Regions from separate parts of the Homo sapiens genome. Here regions 1, 2, 3, 4, 5 and 7 are each linked to region 6. Evidence: promoter capture Hi-C in 16 types of primary human blood cells and fetal thymus (Javierre and others, 2016). All regions are on one chromosome and are shown on one strand. Each heading gives the region's core, a stretch centred on a gene start or on the middle of the fragment in contact. The rest is flanking DNA. Distances are from core to core; before and after follow the strand shown.

The links. Contacts are between HindIII fragments. The CHiCAGO score rates a contact against its expected background, and 5 or more counts as called.
Region 1: a fragment that was not itself captured here is called in contact with the fragment with the promoter of TMEM222 in region 6 in 1 of 17 cell types (erythroblasts); the score reaches 5.1 in erythroblasts.
Region 2: the fragment with the promoter of KDF1 here is called in contact with the fragment with the promoter of TMEM222 in region 6 in 7 of 17 cell types (M1 macrophages, M2 macrophages, neutrophils and 4 more); the score reaches 9.5 in M1 macrophages.
Region 3: a fragment that was not itself captured here is called in contact with the fragment with the promoter of TMEM222 in region 6 in 5 of 17 cell types (endothelial precursors, naive CD8 T cells, erythroblasts and 2 more); the score reaches 6.0 in endothelial precursors.
Region 4: a fragment that was not itself captured here is called in contact with the fragment with the promoter of TMEM222 in region 6 in 6 of 17 cell types (endothelial precursors, megakaryocytes, naive B cells and 3 more); the score reaches 10.6 in endothelial precursors.
Region 5: a contact is called between the fragment with the promoter of IFI6 here and the fragment with the promoter of TMEM222 in region 6, in 13 of 17 cell types (naive CD8 T cells, monocytes, total B cells and 10 more). The highest score is 9.9, in naive CD8 T cells.
Region 7: a contact is called between the fragment with the promoter of ZDHHC18 here and the fragment with the promoter of TMEM222 in region 6, in 10 of 17 cell types (total B cells, neutrophils, activated CD4 T cells and 7 more). The highest score is 11.6, in total B cells.

What each region holds. Positions count from the first base shown.
Region 1 is chr1:26,994,300-26,998,443 of GRCh38, forward strand. It overlaps TRNP1 (TMF1 regulated nuclear protein 1), which reads left to right. Exons shown (of 2, transcript NM_001013642.3): 1 at 1-313. The coding sequence ends at 171. Among named protein-coding and RNA genes, the nearest start is that of TRNP1, 2.7 kb to the left of the region's middle. RefSeq lists enhancers at 3,263-3,868, 3,379-3,673, 3,626-3,685, 3,696-3,815. The HindIII fragment of the contact is 2,158 bases long and covers 204-2,361 here.
Region 2 is chr1:26,957,809-26,961,795 of GRCh38, forward strand. It overlaps KDF1 (keratinocyte differentiation factor 1), which reads right to left and starts at 2,660. Exons shown (of 4, transcript NM_152365.3): 1 at 2,542-2,660. RefSeq lists an enhancer at 2,098-2,780 and a silencer at 3,650-3,944. The HindIII fragment of the contact is 1,819 bases long and covers 1,101-2,919 here.
Region 3 is chr1:27,652,278-27,656,256 of GRCh38, forward strand. No RefSeq gene overlaps it. Among named protein-coding and RNA genes, the nearest start is that of LINC02574, 8.5 kb to the right of the region's middle. RefSeq lists a silencer at 2,234-2,636. The HindIII fragment of the contact is 5,418 bases long and covers 1-3,979 here.
Region 4 is chr1:27,617,391-27,621,538 of GRCh38, forward strand. All of the region lies in intron 5 of FGR (FGR proto-oncogene, Src family tyrosine kinase), which reads right to left. Among named protein-coding and RNA genes, the nearest start is that of AHDC1, 15 kb to the left of the region's middle. RefSeq lists a silencer at 1,009-1,168. The HindIII fragment of the contact is 959 bases long and covers 1,629-2,587 here.
Region 5 is chr1:27,669,935-27,673,773 of GRCh38, forward strand. It overlaps IFI6 (interferon alpha inducible protein 6), which reads right to left and starts at 2,258. Exons shown (of 5, transcript NM_002038.4): 1 at 2,189-2,258. RefSeq lists an enhancer at 2,290-2,629. The HindIII fragment of the contact is 12,379 bases long and covers 796-3,839 here.
Region 6 is chr1:27,320,754-27,324,634 of GRCh38, forward strand. It overlaps TMEM222 (transmembrane protein 222), which reads left to right and starts at 1,410. Exons shown (of 6, transcript NM_032125.3): 1 at 1,410-1,638. The coding sequence starts at 1,445. It also overlaps the pseudogene ACTG1P20. RefSeq lists enhancers at 824-1,370, 1,371-1,918, 1,418-1,767, 1,919-2,465. The HindIII fragment of the contact is 7,674 bases long and covers 1-3,881 here.
Region 7 is chr1:26,824,031-26,828,240 of GRCh38, forward strand. ZDHHC18 (zDHHC palmitoyltransferase 18) reads left to right here and starts at 2,658. Exons shown (of 8, transcript NM_032283.3): 1 at 2,658-3,109. The coding sequence starts at 2,775. RefSeq lists silencers at 2,440-2,592, 2,556-2,705, 2,716-2,925. The HindIII fragment of the contact is 7,154 bases long and covers 1-4,210 here.

The DNA of each region.
Region 1 (4,144 bases), core at 33-2,532, 330 kb before region 6:
GGCCCGCGCCGCGGCCGCCGCGGCCGACCCCCCGCGCTGCTGGCCTCGGCGCTGGGCCTGGGCGGCTGCGTGCCCTGGGGTGCCGGGCGACTGCGGCGCGGCCACGGCCCCGAGCCCGACTCGCCCTTCCGCCGCAGCCCGCCCCGCGGCCCCGCCTCCCCGCAGCGCTGACCTCCACGCCCGGACCCCTGGCCACCCCGACAAGCTTCGCCGAGGTGCCGACCGACCGACTGATCGCGGACGCCGGCTGGAAGGACTACGGATCCGCAGGAAGAGGCAGTTGGGGGCCAGGGGCCCAGTAGAGGAGGCTGAGGTGCGGTCTTAGCGGCTGGTGCGTTCGAGGGTCGGTCATGGCGTGTGGGGGGCTGGTCCAGGGCCCGGGAACTCCCTTCCCTGGAGCTTCTGGCGTCTGCTGGGTCCCTAGTAAAGCTGCCACTTTCTGTTGCCGCCTCTCCCGACCATCTGGAGAGTGAGAGGTGGTAGCATCAAGTCTCCATTATAAGAGTTGGACTCTTGAGGGGGCTCAGATCCCAGGAACGGGTTGGCGGCAAACTTTTACCACTTGGAACCTGCCGCACGGATGCAGCACCCCCCATCCTCACCCCCACTTGCGTGGCCTTTCCCGGGCCCCTCGGAGCTGTGAGCAGTCTTGCCCTTGAGGATGCTGCTTCCTGGCGCCGCCCAGCTCCGTGCCTTCGGGAGGACAGAATAATGAGGCCCCAGGATGGGGTGGAGGCTGGCACAGGGCTGTACCACTGAATTCCCCCTCTAGGCCTGTTTCACCTTTGGGGAGACGGAATCCCAGAGAGGTTTAGGATTTGTTCTCTTCATACTTAGGCCCTTCTTCTTCTAGGAGACAGCTTTTCTTATGCCGTCATGCAGGTTCGCAAAAATTACAGCCTGACTCACATAACCAGGACAGGATGTCTGGCACCTGCTCACCCAGGGATCCTTACATAGCAGAACCTAGAGGCTTAACTCCCAACCTGTTACTAAGATGGCTCGGCCAGGTTGGAACCAGGTGATACCCTTTAACAGGCCCCAAGGGGGCAGGTGTGGTATCAGCTTCCAGAAAGGGGGGCCTTAAAGAGCCAGATCTGAGGTGAGATCTGCTTCTCTTCCTGTCCAGATGCCCTTCAGTCTCCCATTCCTCTGTCCCCACTGTGAATGACCTGGCTACCACATTGCTGCTCACCAGCTGAGTTAATTTCACTCTCACTTATCAGTCTGCGAAGTGGATCTCTTAACCTCCCAGAGGGGCTGTGGTGACGTTAACCCAGGGCAGAGGTCCTTCTTCTTCCTCACTAAATCATGGAAAGATAATTTTTTTGTTGTTGTTGTTTGTTTTGAGACAGTGTTTCGCTCTTGTTGCCCAGGCTGAAGTGCAATGGTGCGATCTTGGCTCACTGCAACCTCCACCTCCCGGATTCAAGCGATTCTCCTGCCTCAGCCTCCCAAGTAGCTGGGATTACAGGCATGTGCCACTATGCCCATCTCATTTTGTATTTTTGGTAGAGACCGGGTTTCTCCATGTTGGTCAGGCTGTTCTTGAACTCCCGACCTCCGGTGATCTGTCCGCTTCGGCCTCCCAAAGTGTTGGGATTACAGGTGTGAGCCACTGCACCTGGCTGATAATGTATTATTTTAACTCACACCTGGAAACAGGCACTGCTTTTGCTGATAGAGCCATGAGCTAATTTAAAGTCCTACTTTTGCAGGGTGGAGAGGGGATTTCTCAAGGTCACATGCCAGTGAGGGAAGAATCAAGGTCCCTGGCCTGTGTGTGCACCTCCCACAGTACCCTGGGCAGGGGCTAGGGAGAGTTGTCCTCTGGATCCTGTCTGCTCTGTGACTTAGAACAACTCTGCCCCCTCTCTGGGCCTCTTTCCTCAGTCCCTCCTTGAGTCAGGGCTTGGGAATGGGGTGAAGTGGGGAGGATGCTTCCTTCCACAGGAATCTGGGAGGGTCAGGTGCACTGCTCTGATAGGCTGAGGCTTGGGGCCCTTATGGGATCCTCCCTCATCAGCCCTTCTCCCTGGATACCAAACTTTTTGGCTGGTTTCTCGGCTAACAGCAAGGCTTTCCTGAACCCTTTCTTAGCTGGGGAAGGGAGGTTCAGGAGGGAGTCTCAGAGCCTCTGACAAAGTTAGGGAACCCCAGGGAAGTAATGAAGGGGGCAATGCCATCCTCTGGTCTTTCCAAACAGGGAACACCTTCCAAAGCCACTTGGGTCATTTGGGGTCTAGAGGCTTAGAGAGGACAGGACATCTTGGAAAGAGCTGAGCTCAGGCCTTGGTGCTGGGCTGCAGCCAGGACCATTTGTTTTCTGGGTTGCATGGGAGGGGGCACTTGGTCCGGAGAAGCTTTTAGCTAATGGTGTAAAGTGCTCGGTGCCATCACAGTTTTGGCTTTCTCCAGGATTTATTTGTAATCAGCTTGTCCCGATTTGGGGGTGGGGTGGGTGAGTAGAGAATTAGAGACGACACTGGCTAGTGTGTGTGTGTGTGTGAAGTAGAGGGTAGTAAATGGAGATTGGTCCTGGTGTCACAGGCAGCTCTGCCCCCTCCCTCCACTTCCAGATGTCCCACTGCTCCTCATCAAGCTTCCTGGCCAGGGCACACACATGTAGACTTGAACCCCAGCTCCTAGTTAGTGCTATGTCCATTACCACATAGCCAACTAACAAAAGGCACCTCCCACACCTGCCTGACCCTCCAGGGCCCCCTCTAGAAGCTCACCCGTCTGGCTTTATTCAGGCTGGGTGCGGTGGCTCATGCCTGTAATCCCAGCACTTTGGGAGGCCCACGAGGGCCAATCACTTGATGTCAGGAGTTCAAGACCAGGCTGGCCAACATAGTGAAACCCCTTCTCTACTAAAAATAACAAAAATTAGCTGGGCGTGGTGGCAGGTGCCTGTAATCCCAGCTACTCGGGAGGCTGAGAAAGAATTGCTTGAACTCGGGAGGTGGAGGTTGCACCGCACTCCAGCCTGGGCAACAGAGCAAGACTGTGTCTCAAGAAAAAAAAAAAAAAAAAAAAAAGCTCACCCGTCTGCCTCCATTTTCTTCTTAATTAGCAAATATTGATAGGGGCTCAGAAAGCAGAGCCAAATCAGAGGAGGGTCTCTACTTTTAAGGGCTTATGTCTCCTGGCTCTTTTCCAGGCAGGCTTTTCTGGCTGTCACCATCCCAGGGGATCCCTTGGGGGCTGAGCAGTTTGTTGGAGGCCAGCTCTAGCCTCGGACAGAAGGCTGACCCACCCCTTTTCCCCACATGACTTTCAGAACACTTTCTTGGTGGCCCCCAGCTCTGGGGACAGGACTGAGTACAGGGATCTTGGGGGACCTGTGCATTGAGGACACTGACGGCCACCAATGAATTTATATCTCAGCAAAGGGAAATGAGGGGGGAACAGGAGCCTTTCTTCAGGCTGGTGCTTGGGGCTGGGAGACCAGTTCAAGGTTCTAATCTGGGACCTGCCCCTCAACTGGATAACCATGTGAGCGTTGCCACCAGAGGGCAGTGTGGGGCTGCTTTCTCGAGACGAAGGGGTGTGGCCTGGAGGAGGTTCAGTCCTTTATTGTTCCTGCCCCCAATCATCCCTTTGCCCGGTAGTCCCCGGGGCTTCCTAGACCTTGAGCTGCAGGGGCCTGGGAGAACGAGCAGGGTAGTCGCGGTCAGCGCAGCCCTAGAGTGGGAGTGTAGTTCTGGGGATAGCTTCCTGGGTGGAGTGGGACTAGAGGCCAGAGCTGTGCCCATCACCGGCTCCCTAGGGGCGGGAACCCTCTTTGAAAGGGGAGCAAGGCCGGGTGCGGTGGCTCACACCTGTACTCCCAACACTTTGGGAGTTTGAGGCGGGCGGATCACGAGGTCAGGAGATCGAGACCATCGTGACTAACATGGTGAAACCCCGCCTCTACTGAAAAAAAAAGGGGGGAGCAAAGGAAGCTCCTTTGGTTGGGCTGAGCCTGGAACCCCAGGGAGAAGACCCATTAGGAAAGACTTCCAGAAAAGACAGGTAGCCCTTGTTGGGGTCACTATCAGGATAAAAGACCAGAGTTATTTTGTATTCACAGATTTGTTACACTAATTGATCAGAACCCAGGGTCCCACTGCCAGTGGTGGCCAGTGTTGCCTCTTAGAGA
Region 2 (3,987 bases), core at 1,410-3,909, 360 kb before region 6:
GATTTATTATTATTATTATTATTATTTGAGACAGTCTTACTCTGTCACCAACGCTGGAGTGCATGGCACGATCTTGGCTCACTGCAACCTCTGCCTCCCAGGTGGAGGCAATTCTCATGCCTCAGCCTCCTGAGTAGCTGGAATTACAGGTGCATGCCACCACACCCAGCTAATTTTTTTGTATTTTTAATAGAGATGGGGTTTCACCATGTTGGCCAGGCTGGTCTCGAACTCCTGACCTCAAGTATCCACCTGCCTCAGCCTCCCAAAGTGCTGACATTACAGGCATAAGCCACCGCGCCCAGCCAGCTGTTCTAAATTCTTTTTTTTTTTTTTTTTTTTGAGATGGAGTCTCACTCTGTTGCCCAGTCTGGAGTGGAGTGCAGTGGCGTGGTCTTGGCTCACTGCAACCTCTGCCTCCCGGGTGCAAGCGATTCTCCTGCCTCAGCCTCCTGAGTGGCTGGGACTACAGGCGCGTGCCACGCCTGGCTAATTTTTTGTATTTTTAGTAGAGATGGGGTTTCACCATGTTAGTCAGGATGGTCTGATCTCCTGACCTCGTGATCCACCCACCTCGGCCTCTCAAAGTACTGGGATTACAGGCGTGAGCCACCGCGCCCGGCCTAGCTGTTCTAAATTCTATGGATAAAGTGATAAAACAGACAAAATCCCTCAACCTCAGGAGTTTACAATCCAGTGAGAGTTGATTATTGATGGCTTACACTGTTCTAAGTACTTCAGACATAATAACCAATTAATTTTCACAACCCTCTTTGTAATATTATTACCTGTATTATTATACTAAAGCACAGACAGGTTAAATAAGTTGTCCAAAGCCATACATCTATCTGTACACAATTGGCCTGGCCCCAGACTCTTATCCACTACCCCATCCCATCTATTACTTGGGAGAAAAGAGGCAGTCAAAGCTGCCAGCTCCATGGACCAGCGTGTGCCCAGAGAGAGCCCATGTTGGGAGCCCTGTCTTCCAGGCTCAAGCCTTCAGGAGAGTGGACAGATCTACAGTTAACCATGCTGAGCTCGGAAGTACGTGGGGCTCCTGAGGATGGACTGGCTATTGTCTTCTCCCCAACCTCCAAAGCTTTAGGACTCTCTATTATTGATTAAATTAATACAACGAGGTGCCCAGCGTTGTGCTAAATGCTGAGAAAACAGCAGTGAATGGGCCAGAGGACTTTCACCTTATTTGACTCTCACAATTGCTCTGAAAATAAGTAGTATATCTCCATTTCACAGATCAGGAATCTGAAGCTCAGAAAGGTGAAGTGACTGGCCCAGAGACACCTAGCAAGAGAGGGCTGGAGTAAGATTTGCACTGTGGCCCGCCAGGCTCTGAAGCCTGCGTACTTTGTGTGTGCCACACATCTCCAGCGGTGGTGGGATGAGAAGAGAAGACCTGGGATAAGGACAATGCCTGCCTCAGTTCCCCACTTCCCTCCAGCCATTGAACCCTCCTGAAGTCAAACTCAGGCAGTTTCTTCCAGGCTGTATCTCCCCGACCCTGCTGCCACCGCCCCGCCACCACCCCGCCCAATCCTAGGAACCTGGTCACTTGGTTTAGTGAGGGGAGACTCCCTGTCCCTATTGTGGCTTGAGGCAAGATTCTTAACCTCACTTTCCTCATCTTTAAATAAGGAGAGACTAGTATCTTCATGCCCCGCCAATCCCGTGAGATTTAAATGAAATATTGAGTGCAGGGGGCTTCCCGCAGTGGCCTTGCCCATGGGAGGGGCTAGGTCACTAGGCGATCTAAGGCACCGCAAGGATGTTCCCGGGGGTCAGAGGGTCCCGGCCCGCCCTCCCTGGATTTCTCGTTGATGCTTTCCTCTTCCCCCTTAGTCCCGCGAACACACACACACACTCAAGGGTCTATGTACCGTCCCCTCCTCCGAGGGTCCCCAGGACAGGCCCGGCCGCACCAGCCTCTGCCCCCAGCCCAGTGCCAAGCCTCGGACACCCGGCCGGGGAGGACCACCCCAGTCCTGCTCGAGAAACAGCCGTCGGCTCAGTGCACCCTCGGCCTCCTGCCCCAAAGGTGCAGCCCGAGAGTCCCATATCCGCGGGCAGCTAGTCCTGGGGACAAGGAAGAACCAGATCCTGGCACTGTCCCCCGGGCTACCACAGCCCCTACACCAACTCTGCCCTCGGGGCGAGCACTACCCTCTCCAGCTGCAAGGGCCCTACCCCGCGGGCGGACCCAGCCTCCCTCCCGTCCCGACGCTGTTCCTCGGGGTGAGCACCAGCGTTTGTCCCATCCCGACGCTGCCCCCCGGTGAGTGCGGCCCCCGCACCCAGCCAGTGCAGCCCTAAGGGCGAACGCGGCCCCTCACCCCATTCTGCGCGCCCAGCCCGGGCGCCCGCTCAGGCCGCTCCCCAGCCCGGCCCGCGCACCCCGGAAGTAGGAGGGTGGCCCCCGAGGAACCGGGCCCGGGACCCTCTCCTGTCCGGGCTCAGCTTCGGGGGGCTCCCGACACCGGCGCCGCCCTGGCTTGCGCCCCCCTGGGCCCGCGCCGGGCTTACCTGTCCCGCCAGGTGAGCCGCCTCCGGCTCAGCCCCTCCCCCGCCCCCTCGCCGCTCACCTGGGGCGCAGGTGAGCGTCTCGCGGGAGCGCTGCACGGGCCGCCGCTAGGGACACACTTCCTGCCTCCGCGAAGCGCTACCGCGCACCTGGACCGAGGCCCCGCCCCGGGGCTCTGCAGAGCTGCGCGTCCCCGCTCGAGTGCTCGGCCCGTTCAGCCTAGTCCGGGTAGGTGAGGTGTGGCGGGGAGGGGTCGAGAGGCGCTGGGGCTCAGTCTCCTCTTCTGTTCAACAGGCTGGTGGTCCTGTCAGTCTCTGAGCACCTGTGGAACTTCTGCCCGGCCGTAAAGCTCCAACTCAAAGGGAAGCTCTCTTCTGGGAAGCTTTCCCTGATCCTGTCTGTTTTTCTGTTGGTTAGAACAGTCCCTGTACTCAGCACACTGTCGTTTTGTTGTCTTCTGTCTCCTCCTTTAGCCTCCTACCTTGCAGGGTTTGGTCTTGTTCCCCTGTGTTCCTGGTGCTCAGCACAGGTCCTGGCACATACTAGGTGTTCAACAAATATTTTCCACTGAATGAGGCCCTGGGCCCCAATTTCTCCCTTTGCCCTGAGGCAGAACTGGGAGCCTGGGCCGCTGATCAGTTTACCTTTTCTTTTGTTCAGAGAAATCTGCAGGTAAAGACAGGAACCTCAGCTCTGAGGCCCCGAGTAGGGTAGAGGAGGGGGACCGGATATGCAGCTCTGAAAGATACATCCAGGATCAGAAGTGGTGGCCAAAATGGGCCATGGTCACTACATCCAAAAAAGGTCTCTGCAAGAGGCAACACCATTGAATGTCAATAAGGCAAGGCTCAGACTATTCTGGGTTACTGTTCCCCTTAATATTAATAACAACTCAATAACTTAACAATAGCATTAATAAACAAGTGACTTGGCCGGGCGCAGTGGCTCATGCCTGTAATCCCAGCACTTTGGGAGGCCGAGGCGGGAGGATCGCGAGGTGGGAGTTTGAGACCAGCCTGGCCAACATAGTGAAACCCAGTCTCTACTAAAAATACAAAAAATTAGCCTAGCATGGTAGCAAGTGCCTGTAATCCCAGCTACTCGGGAGGCTGAGGCAGGAGAATGGCTTGAACCCAGCAGGCAGAGGTTGCAGTGAGCCGAGATCGCGCCATTGCACTCCAGCCTGGGCGACAGAGCGAGACTCTGTCTCAAATAAACAAAACAAACAAACAAACAAGTGACTTTTAGGGAGCATCTCCAGGAGCCATGCATGCCGAAGCCGTTAATCTGTGAAGTGGGTCAGGTATTATCATATCCATTTTACAGTAAGAGGAAACTGAAGCTTAGAGAGGGGACATTGTTTGCTCAGGCAGTTGGCACAAACTGACTTTTGGCAAGGCACTTTCCTTCTCTAAACCTAATCTCTGGAGATAGTAGTACCTCTCTTT
Region 3 (3,979 bases), core at 1,334-3,833, 330 kb after region 6:
AGTCTTTGGCTATGGAAACAGTGCTGCAGAGAATAACTTTATACATACATCATTTATTACTCATGCAAGTCTATCCGAAGATGAATTCCCAGAAATAGGTTATCTGAAGGTATTTTGATAGATTTTGCCAAAATGCCCTTTTACCAATTTATATTCACACATGTGAGAGTCATGTGTGAGAACATGTGTGAGAGTAGTACTATTTCCTCATAGAAATGCTCACAGAATATGTTATTCAGCTTTTGGGGTTTTTTTGGCCAGACTGATAAGACATCGTATCTTAGTCCATTTTGTGCTGCTATAATAAAATCCCACAGAATGGATAATTAATCATAAACAGAAGTGTATTGGCTCACAGTTTTGGAGGCTGGGAATTCCAGGATCATGGGGCCCACATCTGGCTTGGGCCCTCTTGCTGTGTCATCCCATGGTGGAAGAGCAAAGAGAGGGTGACAGAGAAGAAAAGGGAACTGAACTTGCCCTTTTATAATGAATCTGTTCCCAGAATAATAATCCCACTCCTGCTATAACAGCACCACCAATCCATTCATGAGGGTGAAACCCTCATGACCTAAACACCTCTCCTTAGGCCCAACCTCCCAACACTGTTGTATGGGGTTAAGTTCCCAGCACCTGCTTTTCGCGGCGTAATGTTCAAACTGTAGCAATATTCTAGTCTAGTTTTTCTGGTTTGCATTTCTTTTGAGTTTGAGCTTCTTTTTATGTGTTTAAGAATCACTTATATTTACTTTTCTGGGAACCGTCAGTTCATATGCTAGGCCTCTATTTCTTTCTTTTTTTCTTTTTTCTTTTTTTTTGAGATGGAGTTTCGCTCTTGTTGCCCAGGCTGGAGTGCAATGGCGTGATCTCGGCTCACTGCAACCTCCGCCTCCCAGGTTCAAGCGATTCTCCTGCCTCAGCCTCCTGAGTAACTCGGATTACAGGCAGGCGCCACCATGCCCAGCTAATTTTTTTGTATTTTTAGTAGAGACGGGGTTTCTCCATGTTGGTCAGGCTGGTCTTGAACTCCCGACCTCAGGTGATCTGCCCACCTTGGCCTCCCAAATTGCTGGGATTACAGGCGTGAGCCACCGCGCCCGGCCTAGGCCTCTATTTCTATAAGATTAATCAATTTCCTGGAATTCTTTCTAAATAAGCGAGATGTTCCCTTGTCTGTGATTAGAGTTGTAAATATTTCCCCCAGATTGTCATTTGTCTTATGCGTTGATTTATAGTGTTTTTCCATGCAGAAGTTTTTGATTTTTATATAGTTGACTTTATCAATCTTTTCTTTTTACAGCTTTTTGATTTTTGAGTCATGGTTAAACTTTCTCCACTATGAGATTATACATTCTCCCATGTTTTCCTCTAGTGCCTTTACGGTTTTATTTTGATTTTTCAAACATTTAAATATTTTATCCCTTGGGAGCTCATCCTGGTGCTCAGTGTGAGGCACGGATCTAATTTTTTTTTTCCTAGTTGGCTACCTAGGTGTCCCAACACCATTTATTAAAGAGTCCATTTTCCACTTTGAGAGGACACCTTTATCAAATACTAAATTCTCGCGTGCAATTAGGTCTATTTCTGGACTTTCTATTCTAGTCCATTGGTCTGTTTGTCTCTTCCTGAACCAAACCAAGTGGTTTTAATTATTATTTTTTGTTTTGTTTTGTTTTGAGACCGAGTCTCGCTCTGTCGCCCAGGCTGGAGTGCAGTGGTTTGATCTCGGCTCACTGCAACCTCTGCCTCCTGGGTTCAAGCAATCCTCCTGCCTCAGCCTCCCAAGTGGCTAGGATTATAGGCACCCACCATCACGTCTGGCTAATTTTTATATTTTTAGTAGAGAAGGGGTTTCACCATGTTGGCCAGGCTTGTCTCGAACTCCTGACCTCAAGTGATCCACTCGCCTCGGCCTCCCAAAGTGCAGGGATTACAGGCATGAGCCAGCATGCCCAGACTTAATTATTTATTTATTCTTATTTTATTTTTTTGAGATGGAATCTCTTTTCATCGTCTAGGACGCTGGAGTGCAGTGGCATGATCTCGGCTCACTGCAACCTCTGCCTCCTGGGTTCAAGTGATTCTCCTGCCTCAACCTCCTGAGTAGCTGGGACTATAGGCGCCTGCCACCAGGCCAGGCTAATTTGGCTAATTTTTGTATTTTTTTTTTTTTTAAGATGGAGTCTCACTCTGTTGCCCAGGCTGGAGTGCAGTGGCATGATCTTGGGTCACTGCAACCTCCAACTCCCGGGTTCAAGCAGTTCTCTGCCTCCGTCTACCAAGTAGCTGGGACTATAGGCATGCACCACCACACCCAGGTAATTTTTGTATTTTTAGTAGAGACAGGGTTTCACCACATTGGCCAGGCTGGTCTCGAACTCCTGACCTCAGGTGATCCGCCTGCCTCGGCCTCCCAAAGTGCTGGGATTACAGGCGTGAGCCACCATGCCCGGCTCTTAATTTTTGTATTTTTAGTAGAGATGGGGTTTCACCATGTTGGCCAGTCTGGTCTTGAACTCCTGACCGCAAGTGATCCACTCGCCTTGGCCTCCGAAAGTGCTGGGATTACAGGCGTGAGCCACCCCATCAAGCCCCAAGTTGTTTTAATTTTTGAGGCTTTAAATATTGTTATCTAACAGTAGTCAGTGAGTGTTGCCTTTTTTTTTTTCCAGAATTTTTCTGGCATTCTTTTTCTTTCTCTCTCTTCTGTCCTTTTTTTGTTTGTTTTTGGGGGTGGGGAACCTCAGGAGACCTCATGGGATTTATGCCTTTGCAGGAAAAAGAAAATCAATAATTACATGTTATTTGGTAGTGGCTAAGAAAAAAAATAAAGCAGGTAAAAGAGCAGAAGGCAACTAAGGGGTAATATTTAGATAGGCAGCCAGGGAAGTCCCCTGGATGAGGGGGAGATACCTGAGTGAAGGATGGGAGACCACGTGGCTACCTGGGGGAAGACATGCCTGGCAGGGCCAAGGGCAAATGCAGAGGCCTGAGGCAGGAGCACGCCTGGCATGCTGAAAAACAGCAAGGCGGCCAGTGCAGCTGGAAGGGAGTGATCAGAGCAGAGAGTGGGAGGCAGTGAGGTAGATCACGCAGGGCCTTGTAGGTCACAGCAAGGACATTGGCTTTTCCTCTGACACCAGGAGCCATGGGGGGGGCGAGGGGGTTGAGCAGAAGAGTGACATGTTCTGACCTCCGTTTTAACAGGATCACTCAGGCTACTGCGTGGAGTGCAGACTGCAGGGGTGAGGGTAGCGGCAGGGAGGGCAATAGGATTTGGGATGGGTGAATAAATTGTAACTTGGTTTCCTTGTCCATTTTCCCCCATCAAACTGTGAGCTTTGCAAGGACAGGCCCTGAGCTTATTCAGCTCTATGAGCCAAGTGCCAGGCCCAGAGTAGGCGCGGATAAACACTGTGTGAGGAAGAAGGGTGGGAAGACAGAGGAGGAGACAGGAGGCAGGAGAGGCAGAGCCCCCTGGGAAATGGCTCTGCAAAGGCCACAGAAAGAAGAGGAAGCAGACATGATGACAGAGCCTGTTCCCCAGCAGGAACCAAGGCCAGGAAGGGCTGAAGCTGGGGAGCTGGGCCCCCAACCCCGGATCTGTGGCCCCCATTAACAATCAGGTTATGTGCAGTTTATGCTGGAGTTCTGCCAACAAAAGGACCCTGGCCGGGGGGGGTGGGGTGGGGATCTGTTCCTCAAGGTGAAGGTGCAAAGGTGAGGTGGCCTGGCAGAGAGGAGAGCAGCTTTCCTGAATCCTTGCACACAGAGGCCCTGAGAAAGGATAATTCACCCCCTTTATAGATGGTAAGTTGAGGCTCCATGAAAGAAACAGACCTAAGTGATACAGCAAATAGGTGGCCTGGCCTAGTTTCAGGGGCTTGGCCTCTCCAAAACACCTCCTTGGCCACTACCTAATTTGGTCGGGGTCCCCTGCAGTTTTAGGGAGTGACTAAATACAGAAGGAAGGGATGAC
Region 4 (4,148 bases), core at 858-3,357, 300 kb after region 6:
CCCATGTGTAAAATGGGGCTGGTACACCTGCTTCACATCCTGGCTGGGAGGGTTACAGAGAAGGGGAGTGTAAAATGCCTGGCACACAGTAGGTGCCCTGCAAAGGTTAGCATCTCTTCTCGTTAGGTTTCTCTTGAATTAAAATTGCTACAATCACAGTCATCAGGGTGCCATGGAGCCTCAGTTCATCTCACTGTAGCCCTTCTGTGCACTCATTTTACAGATGAGGAAGTTGAGGCTCAGAGAGGGAAAGTGACCTGTCCACAGGCTGGCTAATGAGCTCCACCTAAAATCCTCTGCCGCTCTCCCTAGTTCTTTTTTCACCACTCCAGTAATCAGATCACTCAGATCCTTCTCCCACCTCCACCTCCAAACTCTTTCCTCCTTTGGCCTCCAGAGCAGCACAGTCTCCTGCTTCTCTTCTCTCTGGCTGCTCCCGCCCCGGCTACTGCTCTTCCTGCACTCTCTTAGACTTGGATGTTGTCCTAAGTCTAAACTTCAACCTCAGGCCTCAATCACTCCTCTCCCTTGGGGATTCTTTCTGGGATTGAACCGTAGCCCTAAACCAACTGTGCAGGTACAATGGGGGAGCTGAAGTGACCACAGGTGCCATAGAAGACTCAGATGATCATGAAACTGGCCTGTGGCCATCTTGGGTTGAATTAAAGGAGCCTCGTGTTTTCAAACCAAGGGTGGTGGAAGTCTCAGTGGACCCTGGGAAGGTCAGTCCGCCCCTGGGTACTAGGCACAGTTCAGGAAACAGGGGAAGGCATTGGCAAGTGGTGTGTCCAGGAGGGCAGGCAGGAGGGGGACGGAGGAAGTGTTGAGGGACTGTATAGACAGGACACATTGTCAAGTTTTTTCAAAGCCCTCCCCGCTCCCACACGCATGACATTAGCTACCTCCTTAATAATCACTATAATAATAACACACATATTTCGTGTTAGGGTCTGCCTTAATACACGTATGTATTCACTTAATTCTCCTAACAATGTTGTGAGATAGCTACTATTGTTAAACCCCATTAGACAGTCAGGGCAGCAGTTGCTAGAACAGGAACCCAGGCTGTCTGCTTTAGGGCCTGTGCTCCTAACCACACTACCCGTAACCACAACACTGCACTGAGCACCTCTCAGTGCTTGGTGACACTGGCTCCAAGATGTGGACACAAGCATGAAGCTCCCCACAAACCTCCTGTCCTCTGCATAATTGTCCGTCCTCTTCTTCACGCCTCCTACCACCTCCCCAGACTTGGGCCTCACCGCACTTGACCTCTGAACCTCGCCTACCCGCTCCTGCTCAGTGATACCCACTTCCTGCCAGCAGCCTCCACCTGCATGCAGCCTCTCTATTCCAACAACCTCCAAACATGCCCACATTTCTCCCTTCCCCAAAGGAAACTATTCTAAGTTCCATCTTGCCGTCAACATTCTGCTGTATCTTCTCGCCTTCCCTTCACTTGAAAAAGTGCTTCACACTTGGGTCTCCACTTCCTCACCTCCCACTCCCTCCCAGGCTCTGCTGTCTGGCCTCCGCCTCCCACCCTCACACAGAGAAATCTCTCACCAAGGTCACCCCCACTGCCAAATCCAGCGGTAGCCTCTGACACGCCCTCTCTTGTTTCCTGAAGCTTCTCCGCTCTCTCGGTTGTTCTGACTTGGCCTGGTCTGGATTTCCTCTCTTCTCCAATGGCTCCTTCTCCTTCGAGGGCAGCTTTCCCCAAAGTGGGGTCCTAGGGCCAACCTTTTGCACTCTCCACTCTCTTCCTTAACCGTCTATATAGCTTTTTTAAAAATTTTTAATTAATTAATTTTTTTTGAGACGGAGTCTTGCTCTGTCACCCAGGCTGGAGTGCAGTGGCTCGATCTCAGCTCACTGCAACCTCCACCTCCCAGGTTCAAGTGATTCTCTTGCCTCAGCCTTCTGAGTAGCTGGAACTACAGGTGCCTGCCACTACACCCGGCTAATTTTTGTATTTTTAGTAGAGATAAGGTTTCACCACATTGGCCAGGCTGGTCTTGAACTCCTGACCTCATGTGATCCGCCCGCCTCGGCCTCCCAAAGTGCTGGGATTACATGCATGTGTCACCGCCCCCAGCCCCCTCCTATATAGCCTTAATGATCATCTTTACTCTCATGAGTCCCAAATTTCTGCCCTAGCCCGTTGTGCCCTCTGCAAGGGCCACAGCAAACAAACTGAGGAGTTTTAGTGGCAATTAAGAAAAGGTGTCCCTTCCTCTGGGCTGATTCAGGGGCATGGATTAGCATGGGCTGGTTGCCTGCCATACAAAGCACAACCTAATCGAATTGCTGGCAGCTTCGTCCACCTGGATGTTCCTCTCCACAAACCACAATCCAACAAGTACCCCCTAGAACTCATGAACTTATACCTGCTCCTGTGTTTCCCGCCTTAGCAAATGGTGCCATCATCCACCCAGCTCCTTAAGGAGACTTTGAGCCACCCTTGATTCCTCCCACTCCCCATAACCCAAATCAGTCACAGAGTCCTGGATTCTCACTCTGCAAAGTCTCTTCAATCCCTTCTTTTCTCATATATGTATGACATTTGTGAGGATAGATTTTTAAAAGCTTTTTGAGCCTCAGTTTCCTCATCTGTAAAATGGGAACAATAATAATATCAAGGGGCCGGACACGGTGGCTCATGCCTGTAATCTCAGCACTTTGGGAGTCTGAGGCAGGAAGATCACTTGAGGTCAGGAGTTTGAGACCAGCCTGGCCAACATCGTGAAACCCCGTCTCTACTAAAATTATAAAAATTAGCCAGGTGTGGTGGCGTGCACCTGTAGTCCCAGGTACTTGGAAGGCTGAGGCAGGAGAATTGCTTGAACTCAGGAGGTGGAGGTTGCAGTGAGCCAAGATTACGCCACTGCCCTCCAACCTGGGCAACAGAGCAAGACTCTGTCTAAAATAATAATATCAAGGCCAGGCATGGTGACTCATGCCTGAAATCCCAGCACTTTGGGAAGCCAAGGTGAGAGGACTGCTTGAGCTCAGAAGTTTGAGACCAGCCTGAGCAACATAGCAAGATTCTGCTTCTATAAAAAAATATACAAAAATTAGCCAGGCATGGTGGCACACACCGGTAGTATCAGCTACTCAGGAGGCTGAGGTGGGAGGATCACTTGAGCTCAGGAGTTTGAGGCTGTAGTAAGCTAAAATCATGTCACTGTACCCCAGCCTGGGCATCAGAGCACGCCCCTGTCTCTTAAAAAACTAATAATATAACGGTGTTATTGTGAGAATTAAGTGAACCAAGGAGATAAATACTTGCTGTAGTATACTTGCTCAAGTATATAAAGGTATTCAATGAATGATAAATTCCTGCCTCTTGGGCCAGGTCTCGGTGGCTCATGGCTGTAATCCCTGAACTTTGGGAGGCCAAGATGGGCGGATGGCTTGAGCTCAGGAGTTCAAGACCAGCCTGGGCAATATGGCGAAACACCATCTCTACTTAAAAAAAAAAATATTAGCCAGGCATGGTGAAAGAATCATCTGAGCCAGGGAGGTCAAAGCTGCGGTGAGCCGAGATTGTGCCACTACACTACACTCTAGCCTAGGCAACAGAGTAGGACCCTGTCTCAAAAAAAAAAAAAAAAAAAAAAAAAAAAGAAAGAAAGAAAGAAAAGAAAAGAAAAACAAAAAGAAAAAGAAAAAGAAAAATTCTTGCCTCCTTAATAGAATTAATTCCTAGTAATGCTCCCTTGCACTTTTTCAGCACTTTACAATTTTTTAAAGCTCATACACTGTTGTTTTTACTGGGAGGCAATATGTGTAATGCTTAGCAAATGCAGCCCAACTATCTGGGTTCATACATCAGCTCCACCACTCACTAGCCATGTGAACTTGCACAGGATATTTACTTTCTCTGTGCCTCAACTTCCTCATTTGTGAAATAGGATAGTAGTAATTTCTAACCCCGTTAATACACAGACAGTACTTTGAATAGTGCCCAGAACATAGTACATGCTCTATTATCTACTATTATTATTATCAGTACAATCTTCTTTTGTTCTCACAATGACCTTACAAAATTATTAGATAAGGAGACAGGCTCGGACTGGAGCAATGACTTGTCCAAGAGGTGGCCTTGGAGTCTGGACTCCAGGGTCCTGTCCATAGGGCTGGTC
Region 5 (3,839 bases), core at 1,008-3,507, 350 kb after region 6:
AAGAAACTCAGTTTCCCTCACCGTACGAGAGGCTTCTGACAGCAGAAGTGTGGGGGTTTCTCCCCACCAGCAAGCAAACAATCAGTCCTCTGGTGAACACCAGCTGAGGGTCCCCAAATTCAATTCTGACACCACTATGGGTAGATAGTGGCCGATCCCACATGTTGAGGGTTCAGTCCCCCAGACTGCCAATCGAAAGCCCTAGGTTGTTTTACCTGTGTTTCTGACTGACTATAAACTGGGGTTCCCACAATTCCCTCCTGCAGTTTTACTAATTTGCTAGAGCAGCTCACAGAACTCAGGGAAACACTTTACTTACATATACTGGTTTCTTTCTTTAAAAAAAAAAAATTGATCTTGTTGTTGTTTTGAGACAGGGTCTCACTCTATTGCTCAGGCTGGAGTGCAGTGGCCCCATCTCAGCTCACTGAGACCTTCGCCTCCCAGGCTCAAGTGATCCTCCCACCTCAGCCTCCAGCATAGCTGGGACTACAGGTATGCACCACCACGCCCAACTAATTTTTTTTTTTTTTTTTGAGATGGGGTTTCACCATGTTGCCCAGGCTGATCTTGAACTCCTGAACTCACGCAATCTGCCTGCCTCAGCCTCCCAAAGTGCTGAGATTACAGGCATCAGCCACCATACCCAGCTACATTTACTGGTTCCTTATGGATATTACAAATGCTCCGGATGAAGAGATGCATAGGGCAAGGTATGGGAGAAAGGGCATGGAGTTTCCATTCCTCTCCAGAAGCACCACCCACTGGAGACCTCCTTGTATTCGGCTATCTGGAAGCTTGTCAAACCCTGTCCTTTTGTGTTTTTATGGAGGCTTCATTACATAGGCATGACTGATTAAATCACTGCCCATTGGTAATCAGCTTAACCTTCAGCCCCTCTCCCCTCCCCAGAGGAAATGCCAGCCATCAGTCAACTTATTAGACAGTTATCACTCAAAAGATATTTATCACTTTGAAGATTCCAAGGATTTTAGGAGTTGTATGCCAGGAACTGGGGGATGAAAAAATATATTTTACAATATCACAAGGGATAAAGGTCACACAGCAAATTGTGCAACATGGGTACACATTCAAGACAGTCAGAATTCATGAACCTATGCTCTTTCCTTTATACCACAAAACTGGAAAATGCATATGCCCTCAGACTCACCTCTAATATGATCTTTGTCAGATCAATGCTATTTTCTTAAGTTAAAAAGAAAAACAAGAAACTCCTCTCATGTATTGAGTACTTAGCACTTTATGGCACGCAGTCCACTTGTACCTATAACAACACCACGAAGTAGGTACCATTGTTATCAACCACATGTTATAGATAAGGAAACTGAAGCTCAGAGAGGTTAAGTAATATTCCCAAGGCTGCCTAGCCAGGTCATGGCAAAGTCAGGGTTTAAACCCACAATTGGCTAATACCCAAGCCCACATTTTTTTTTTTTTTTTTTTGAGATGGAGTCTTTCTCTGTCGCCCAGGCTGGAGTGCAGTGGCGCAATCTCATCTCACTGCAAGCTCCACCTCCCAGGTTCATGCCATTCTCCTGCCTGCCTCAGCCTCCCGAGTAGCTGAGACTACAGGCGCCCACCACCAAGCCCGGCTAATTTTTTTTGTATTTTTAGTAGAGACAGGGTTTCACTGTGTTAGCCAGGATGGTCTCGATCTCCTGACCTCGTGATCCGTGGGTCTCGGCCTCCCAAAGTGCTGGGATTACAGGCGTGAACCACCACGCCCGGCCACCAAGCCCACATTTTTAACAACCACTCCAGATGGCTTCATCTATCCTTAAAGATGAACTCACTGTCACATTGGATCCTATAATAAAGGGGATTCTAAAATCATCCAGTCCTTTGAGCAGCAAAGGCAACTTAACTTTCCTTTTACAGAGGAAGTAATTAAGGCTCCAAGAGGTGACAGTGTTAAGGCCACAGATCGCTGATATTGCACCTGTAAGCTGGGTCTCATGCCACTTGGGGTTTTGCATCCCATCTCCCTAAAAATCTCCAACCCATCCTCTTAGACAAGTCCCAGCCCAGAGCACTAAAAGGGACCCAGGAGTGCTGCCTCCCAGGAGAAGGGGCCTCCTGGCTCTCAGAACATGAGATTTACAGGCAGACAGGCAGCCTGGCAGAGGGTGGCAGCTTGATGCCCACACTTCATAGCTCCTGAGTTTACCTTGGAGGAGAGAAGAGAAGCAATCTTCAGCCCGGAGCCTGCTGATAGATGGGCACAGCAGCGAGTAAACGGTTCTCCGGCTGAAGGCTGGCTTTTTATCATCACTTGTGGATCCTCCCACGTCTCACCCTAGGCAGCCAATCCCTGTCGGAGTTTCTATTTCTGCACTCTGCAGTTTCATTTTCCCCTCTCTCCCAGCTCCTGCACTCTGCAGAGTTTCATTTTCCCCTCTCTCCCAGCTCCGCCCAGCGGGAACATTTGTGTGCTGCCTGCTGGCAGAAAAATGCACTTCAAGCTGAGGACTTTTGGAGCCGCTAAGGGTATTCAAAGCATGTCACACTATGATGAGAGCCACGGCCATACTGGGCTTAGTGAAGCCTGATCACCAGCTCCCCCTGGGGCACACAGGCCTTTCACCATTCAGTCCAATTAGTAAACAACACCTATCATTTATTGAGCACTTGCTGCATGCCAGGGTCTGTGCAAAGTGCTCTATTTACATGATCTTTTTCCAATCCCACAGTAGTCATGTGACATACCATATGCTGTTTATAAACCCCCAGAACTTTGGAAATTAAGTCACTTTGTTCCATTGTTCTCTCAGGCTGGCTGCTTCTGGGTCATGGGCATATGGTAAGACCAGTGAAGCCTGTGTTCATGTGGCCATCATGATAGATCTTGAGTTTCAAGATGGGTCCCCTGGCCCTAGGTAATGAACTGAGCATTCTTTAAAGCCTTTGGATGGTGATGCTTGAAGTGCTATGGGTCAGAAATGCAACCTCTATTTGGAGAACATAGAAATTCCAGTAAGGATGAATCATTGCCTTCTCCCAAGTGGAAGGGGTCTGAAATAATTGACCTGCCACCAGATGGCTGGCTATTCTCATTGAGAAATTTTGCCATATTGCTACCTGCTGCTGGCAGATTGGCTATATTTTGGCAATTGCCAGATCAGTTTTGGTGAGAGGGAGCCCAAGTTGTTGGACTCATTTCTAACCCCCATCCTTACCACCTTGGACACTCATAGGTCTATTGCAAGGCAATAGTGAGGCTAAGTTTAGAGGCTGGCTGACATCCACAGGATGGGACATCCTGGCCATTGGGCTGTAGAGCCTCCTCTGCAGCAGATGATCTCTGGTCAGCATTAACATGAGACATAGAGATCCAGGTGCTTTATGCCCATTCAGAGTTCATTCTTATGCCCCTAACCCACACCTGCTTATTCCCAATCTTCCAATCTTGTTCCATCCATGCCTTTGACCAACCAGCCAAGCCATTTGCCTCTTATTAGGAATTGGTGTATGTCTGTACTTCAGTCCATCTCTCTCTCTCTCTCTCTGCATACAGAGGGAACAACACGGTATACTGCTCCTAGTTCTGCCCCCTGGGAGGATTCACTATTATTCAGTGCCACCCCCAAATGGGGCTGTAATAGAGTGGTCCGTTTCCAGCTGATACCAAAATATTATACTGACTTATCTGTGAATTGAGTTTGACTCCTTTCCTCCATTATCTGTTGGTTGCTGGGAACACTCCATGAGGCCATATATATGGGTCAAAGAGAAAACCCAGAGAAACAGAGTTGGGCGCCACAGGACTCTGAGCTCCCTGTTTATTTAATTTACTCAAGCCTTTTAGACCCCTTTGCTCA
Region 6 (3,881 bases), core at 160-2,659:
GGTGCTACAAACAGGACAGCAAGCTCTCCATAGATCAGCATTGAGGGAGGGTAATTCAGTGGAAGAAGGACCTTCCCCAAATGGGAAGCTCCTAACTTCCTGAGTGCATTTGTCCATACCTTCCTTTACCTGATTACTCTTTTTATTCTTTTTTTTTTTTCTTTAAGGCTGATTTTTAGTGGCAGCCTTCCTTCTGACTTTGGGCTGTCCCCAACTTCCCCTCCCCACCCCAGTAGACCCCAGTAGACTTCATTTTCTTTGTCTTGACATCCTTTAAAAAGCCAAAAGTCTCCAACATTTGAGCCTGGCTTCTCTCTAATTATGGTTGTGTGTGATCTCAAACAATTAACTTCCCTGAGCCCGTTTTCCCATTTGTACAATGAAGGGATTGGATCACATCTAAGGCTTATGATTTACTCCAGTAAGTATTCACACTCTTGCACACACTGCTCTGCACGGCCTTCCTTTCTTTGTACCGCTGCACTCATACTTCCACTCCTGTGCCACATGGCAAACATCAAGACTCAACTCAATAATATCCTATCTTCCAGCAAGTCTTCCCTGTATATACAATAAAACACACACACACACACACGTGCGCACACACAACTGTGTGTGTCTTCCTTTATGCTACCACTACCTCGTGAGAGGGCCACAGAATGAAAAGGGCAAGGGAGGTATAAGACTTGGGTTTGGGCCAGGCGCGGTGGCTCACGCCTGTAATCCCAGCACTTTGGGAGGCCAAGGCGGGCGGATCACAGGGTCAGGAGTTTGAGACCATCCTGGCTAACATGGTGAAACGCCACCTCTACTAAAAATACAAAAATTAGCCGGGCGTGGTGGCACGCGCCTGTTATCCCAGCTACTCGGGAGGCCGAGGCAGGATCGCCTGAACCTGGGAGGTGGAGGTTGCAGTGAGCCGAGATTGTGCCATTGCCCTCCAGCCTGGGCAACAAGAGAAAAAATTCCGCCTCAGAAAAAAAAAAAAAAAAAAAGACTTGGGTTTGCATCGTGGTCTCTCACCTTTTGAACCTCAGTTTCTCACCTGTAACAGGAGGGAATACCTAATTTGGATGTCTAATTAGTTTATGGGGATTAGAAACAATTCATGTCAAGTGCTTGGCACCTAAGAAGTGCTCAATAAATAGCGACTGTACCACACCTCCTAGGAGCCCTCAGCGTACTGAATTAGAGTTCTCTATAAGTCTCCGGCGCTAGACTGCGAACTGCCTGAGAGCATCCCTTCTGCAGCCGCGGGGCATAAGCGGCAAAGACTCGGGGCTGGCAGGCGCATAGGGAGTGGGGCGGGGCTGGCCGGGCCCAGAGGAACGCGGCTCGGATTCCCGGGGGAAGGCCAAGCGGGGCGGACCCCATCTCCGGGAAGTGACGCCATGGGGACGAGCGGCACCAGAGCCGGGGCCAGTCGGAGCGGGGCGCGCGCCGCATGGCGGAAGCGGAAGGGAGTTCTCTGCTCTTGTTGCCGCCGCCGCCACCCCCGCCCAGGATGGCGGAAGTGGAGGCGCCGACGGCGGCCGAGACGGACATGAAGCAATATCAAGGCTCCGGCGGCGTCGCCATGGATGTGGAACGGAGTCGCTTCCCCTACTGCGTGGTGTGGACGCCCATCCCGGTGCTCACGTGAGTCTCTTCCGGCATCCGCCTGGGGACGAGGAGGGCCCAGGGAGAGCCGGAGTCGGGCCGGGCTAGCCTCCGGCCCCAACGCGCAGCAAGCCTTTTCCTCGGGTCTGGCCCGCACGCCTCGCCCAGTCACCAGAACCCCGCCATCCATGTAGTGCCAGTTTGTGCACACGGCTGGGACACGCTCCCTGCTCTCAATACACCTGGTGTAGCCAGGGAGAGAGTTGTAGGCCAGCAGGAAAGGGCAAGTGGCTGGGAGACTCGAGCTGTGAGTGTGTAGAAGAGGGAGCCCCTTATCGGATCTGAGGAGACATTTTTATTAATTCACTGGTTTATTCTCTCATTGAGCAAATGCTTACTGGTCGCTTACCATATTCCAGACATACTGCTGGGTCTGGGAGCAAGAGTGGGAGTTTGGTTGGGACCACACGAGATCCTGGGATGTCAACATTGGAAGGGCCCCCAGAGATCTGAGAGTCCAACCCTTTGTCTCACGTGCCATCTCAGTTGCAAACTGGGTTTAGATCCCAGGTTGTCTGCCTCCCAGACCAAAGTTCTTTCTGTAACATCAGCCTTTGTCAGGGGAGAAGCAGGTGCTCTGGTACTACTTGGCGCCTTTTGGGAGGAGCTCTCATATGGGGAGAGGTGGTTTGCCCTCCTGCTTCAACCTTGACAGCTGATAAACGTAACCCCTCCTCACCGTGCTGGATAGTTTGCCAAGCTCTTAAACACCCATTTTATCAGAATTAAACATCCATTTTCTAAGGTAGGTTATCTTCTCAGATGGTGAAGCTGAGCTGCTTGTAGCATTAAGTGTCTTGATCAGGTTCGCACCCCAATAAGCAAAGGCATGAAGAGCTCAGTCTTCTGATCTAACTTGCTCTTTGCACTACATCTTATCCACTCTCACCTGATGGGATAGCTTGTTCCGCTATCAATAACAGCCAGTGGTGATGTGGAGAAGGGATCATTTGGGGCCTTAGGTGTTGCTGATTCTAAAAAGATCGTAGTTTTTGAATTATGTTAAAATACTTGAATTATTTTGTGTTTTCAAGTACTTATGCATATAAGAGCATCCAAATCTGTTCTTTAAAAATAAAATATTGGGACAGGCGCGGTGGCTCATGCCTGTAATCCCAGCACTCTGGGAGGCAGTGGAGGGTGGATCGGTAGGTAGTTCGAGACCAACCTGGCCATCGTGGCGAAACCCGTCTCTACTAAAAATACAAAAATTAGCTGGGCATAGTGGCACGTGCCTGTAATCCCAGCTACTCTGGAAGCTGAGGCAGGAGAATCGCCTCAACCCGGGAAGTGGAGTTTGCAGTGAGCCGAGATTGCACCACTGCACTTCAGCATGGGCAACACAGTGAAACTCCGTCTCAAAATAAATAGTGAAATAAAATCTTAGGAAAATGTGCACATTAATTCATTCAGTGTTCTTCTAACACATGTGCTAAGTGACCCCTGTGTTCCCAGATAGTTCTAGGTGATGCGAATATACAGTGATGAATAAAGGAGATATGGTCTTTAGACTTTTGAGAGTTTAAGTCATAGTGGAAGGAGATAGACAGTAAACAAGTAAGCTAATAAAAGAGCACCTGATAGTGATGAGTGCTGTGAAGAAAATAAAATATTAGTGTGAAAATAACAGGGGCCGGGCGTGGTGGCTCAGGCCTGTAATCCCAGCACTTTGGGAGGCCCAGGCGGGCGAATCACCTGAGGTCAGGAGTTCAAGACAAGCCTGACCAACATGGAGAAACCCCATCTCTACTAAAAATACAAAATTAGCCGGGGTGGTGGCACATGCCTGTAATCCCAGCTACTCAGGAGGCCGAGGCAGGAGAATCACTTGAACCCGGGAGGTGGAGGTTGCGGTGAGCCAAGATCGTGCTTTTGCACTCCAGCCTGGACAACAAGAGCAAAACTCCGTTTCAAAAAAAAAGAAAATAACTGGGAGGGATACTCAGGAAATGTATTGGTTTTCTTAAAACCTGTCTTGTGATCCTAAACTCTCTTTAGCCTTTCTTATTCTCAAAAACACCATCTGTGGCGTGGTCCTCTGCGGAGAATGGTAGCAGCGTGAGGTGGAGGCACCACAATCCCTTGTCACCTGGGCCAAAAGCAGCTCATAGCCCATTTCTATTCAGATCTGTGTACAGGTGTTCATAAGACCAAGATGAATAAGACACTGTGTTCCTGTCAAAGGGTTCATGTTCCCTTCTGTGTTAGTCCATTCTTGCACT
Region 7 (4,210 bases), core at 1,408-3,907, 500 kb before region 6:
CCTTCCAAGTAGCTGGAACTACAGGTGCATGCCACCATGTCCAGCTAATTTTTAATTATTTTTGTAGAGGTGGCATCTCGCAATGTTGCTGAGGCTGGTCTTGAACTCCTGGGTTCAAGCAATCCTCCCACCTTGGCCTCCCAAAATGCTGACATTATAGATGTGAGCACTGCGCCCAGCCTTGCTTTTTAATTGATGTAGAATTGAGCATGTGTTTGCGGTATTAATGAACAGGAAGAGAGATAGGACATGAGTTTGGAGTTCTATTGGGCTTAAATAAATAAATAAAATGGAGTTCCATCAGCCTTACTTAAAAAAAAAAAAAAAAGAGGCCAGGTGCAGTGGCTCACACCTGTAATCTCAACCCTTTGGGAGGCCGAGGCAGGCGGATCATCTGAGGTCAGGAGTTCGAGACCAACCTGGCCAACATGGTGAAACCCCGTCTCTATTAAAAATACAAAAATTAGCCGGGCATGATGGCACATGCCTGTAATCCCAGCTACTTGGGAGGCTGAGGCAGGAGAATCACTTGAACCCAGGAGGCAGAGGTTGCAGTGAGCCGAGGTCATGCCATTGCACTCCAGCCTGGGTGACAAGAGCGAAACTCCATCTCAAAAAAATAAAAAATAAAATAAAATAAGGATATGAGTGGAGGGTTGGCCATGGACAGAAGGAGGCCCACATCTTCTAAAAAAGAAGAAAGGACAGATGCAAATAAAGAGAAATTATGAGATAGAGAGGAGGTAAACTGAAAATCCAGTAGGATTGCTTTGGTTTCTGTAAAGTGACGAGAAAAAAGAAAAGGTTTCAGGTTGCAAGAGGACCCAGTTAAGGTGGGACAACAGGAATCTGTACTGGAACCAGTATGTCTAGTTTTGTGACTTTGTTCCACAGCCAAGGAGCAAAAAGGGAGGAAGCTCACCATGTGGTTTGCTCAAGATGGGGCTCATCATATTGAGAGCCTTTGGCACCAAAGGCACGGCTGAGCAGCCTTTGGCATATATATCAATTATTGATCCTTAAGGTCACTGTTGTCGGCTTCCTACTCCTCCCCATTGTATATTTTTACTTCCTTTTTTACTTTCTCCTAGTCTCCAGTTCTTTTTTTCCTTGCACTTTTCCTTAGGTTTTACAGTAACCACAGTGTGACAGACATACCCTAAGCTGACCCCCAATGATTCCTGCCTCCTGGTATTTACGCCTTGTGTGATTCCCTTTTCTTGAGTGCAGATGGCTCCTGTGCTTTGCTTTTAACCATAGGAGATGGCAATGATGATGGGATGCCACTCTGTCACATATATAGTAAGTTATATAAAACTCTATCATCATAGTCTGGAGCTAGAGACCCTCATTGTCAGTTTCAAGAAACTAAGTGGCTATGTAGGAGAAACCTGCATGGCAAGGAAATGTGATAATCTCTAGGAACTGCAGGTGGCTTTTGGATCCTGAGAGAGGCCTCCAGCAGACACCCAGCAAAAATCCCAGGCCCTCCTCAGTTATACAGTCACCCAGCAAAAATCCCAGGCCCTCTTCAGTTAAACAGTCGCAAGGAAGTTAATTCTGCCAATAACCCAAATGGGCTTGCAAGTGGATTCTTCCCTGGCTGAGTCTCCAGATGAGAATGCAGCCTGATTGCAGCCTTGTGAGACTAAGCAGAGGACCCAGCTAAGCTGTTCTCTGGCTCCTGACCTGGAACCTGTTAGATAACGTTTGTTTTTTGTTTTTTTTGAGACGGAGTCTTGCTCTGTCACCAGGCCGGGTGCAATGGCACAATCTCGGCTCACTGCAACCTCCACCTCCTGGGTTCAAGCAATTCTCCTGCCTCAGCCTCCCGAGTAGCTGGGACTATAGATGCCGTGCCACCATGCCCAGCTAATTTTTTATTTTTAGTAGAGACGGGGTTTCACCATATTGGCCAGGATGGTCTCTCTCGACCTTGTGATCCACCCACCTCGGCCTCCCAAAGTGCTGGGATTACAGGCGTGAGACACCGCGCCCGGCCGATAATGTTTGTTTTAAGCCTTAAATTTGTGGTAACTTGTTACACAGCAGTAGAAAATGAATACTCCCAGAATTCCTGAAAAAACACTGGGGCCCTCAGGCATGACCCCTCTACATTATGTGCTACCTAGGAAAATCTGGGCCTGGGCCCAGGACACAGAACTTGGTGAACGAGGCCAGAGGGTGTGCCACACACCTCCAGTGGGCACTCTGGACTTCAAGGTAGAAGAGGTCCTGGCTTTCAAAGCAAATCGTGTGCCCCACCTCCCCGCGCCTGCCTGCCTCTGCAAATGCCTGTCAGTTCGACCCTCAGAGATGGGCGAAGCCTGGGGAATTACAGACTGCCAGAAGTAGATCACGAAGTCCACCACCTGAATCTCGGCGTTTGGCACCGTGCCTGGTACACAGTGGACGCCCAACAAACGGCTTGCTTGCAGAACAGAAAGAGCCCTCGAGTGCGCGTCTGCTGGCCCCCTCTTTGTGCAGAAGGGAAAAGGGAGACTGGGAGGGCCGGGGACCTGCGGGGCCCCGCCGCGGGTCAGAGCTGGGCCTCCGGCCAAGCGCCATCCCGGGCCCAGGCGGAGGGGGCGCTGCGGCGGGAGGCCGCGGCGGGCGGTGGCGGCGGGCCGGGGGCGGAGCGATGGCGGGGCCGCCCCAGTGAGTGAGCGAGCGAGCGCCGCGCGCGCCGCCGCTGCCACCTCCGCTGCTCGGCCCGGTCCCGGAGTGGCCCGGCCGGCCCGCGGGGCGCGGAGCCGAGGCCCGCGGCTGGCTGCATGAAGGACTGCGAGTACCAGCAGATCAGCCCCGGGGCCGCCCCGCTGCCCGCCTCCCCGGGGGCGCGCCGTCCCGGCCCCGCCGCGTCCCCGACTCCGGGCCCCGGGCCCGCGCCGCCCGCCGCCCCCGCCCCGCCGCGCTGGAGCAGCAGCGGCAGCGGCAGCGGCAGCGGGAGCGGGAGCCTCGGCCGCCGCCCACGGCGCAAGTGGGAGGTGTTCCCGGGTCGCAATCGCTTCTACTGCGGCGGCCGCCTCATGCTGGCCGGCCACGGCGGCGTCTTCGCGCTCACGCTGCTGCTCATCCTCACCACCACCGGCCTCTTCTTCGTCTTTGAGTGAGTTCCGCTGCCTCGGCGCCCCCTCCCAGCCCCCTGCCGCGCACCCCACCTTCCCAATCCCTGCTGGGCACTCCGTGCCTTCCCCTTCGCCTCCCTGGTCCTCATCCTCCCCGCCCCTTTGGGATCCTCCTCGGGCCTCTTGTCTGCCCCCCTGGCCCCTGCGCACCCCCATCCCCGCCAGATGCCCCATCCTCCTTGGTCCATTTGGGTACCCCATCCGCGCTGGTGCCCTCCACCCTCCCAGCCCCTCCATTCTCCCTGACCCCACCCTGGCACCTGTCTGCCTGCCACTGCCAGGAACACCAGCCTCCATGCCCCTCCACGGCCCCCATCCTCGCTGCCCTCTCAGAACCTGCCCCAGGGCTTCTTGAACAGGCCCCTCCTGCTCACCCATCCCTGGACCATCTCTTGCCAACCCCCCAAGTTCTTTCTGACCCTTGTATCCCTTCCTGACCACTTCTAGATCTTGTGTGTCCTTTGGCTGTGCACACCCACCATAAACATCCTAGTCATCCTCGCTGCCCTCTCCGGGTCCCTCCAGGGTCCCCTCCTTTTCTCTAGTCTCAGACACCAACCCCGCTTTTGCTTCCCCTCAGCCACGCACACCCTAGGCCCCAAGGCATCTTTTCTCAAAATCTTTGGGCCTCTCGGGCCCCCTTTCCTTCTCCAGAACCTTCCTTAGGTTCTCCAGAGCTTCCTGTCCTTCCCTCAGATCCCGCCCGCCTCCACCCAGCCGGCTCCCAGGCCCCTGGCCCCCCTGCTGACCACCTGGCTTTCTTTCCCTGCTCAACATTCTGGAACGTCCCTCTGGCCTGTTCCACATCAGCAACAGCTGCGGTGCCTTGTTGTTTTTCAGGAAAGACTTCGGAGTGCTTTCGTGTGACAGGTCATATTTGCCCCCCTAGGTTTTTGTCCTCTTCATATCCCCCGGTGACCCAGGATTGGCCCACACATAATCTCCATTTTATGGATGGAGGGTCATATATTTGTATTAGAAGTTTTCCACCCACCTCTGAGCCACCTGCACTGTGATTCCTTGCACACACACTCACACGCCCACCCACCCACCCTTGCTTCATAAGCCCTGCTGTCCCCTCC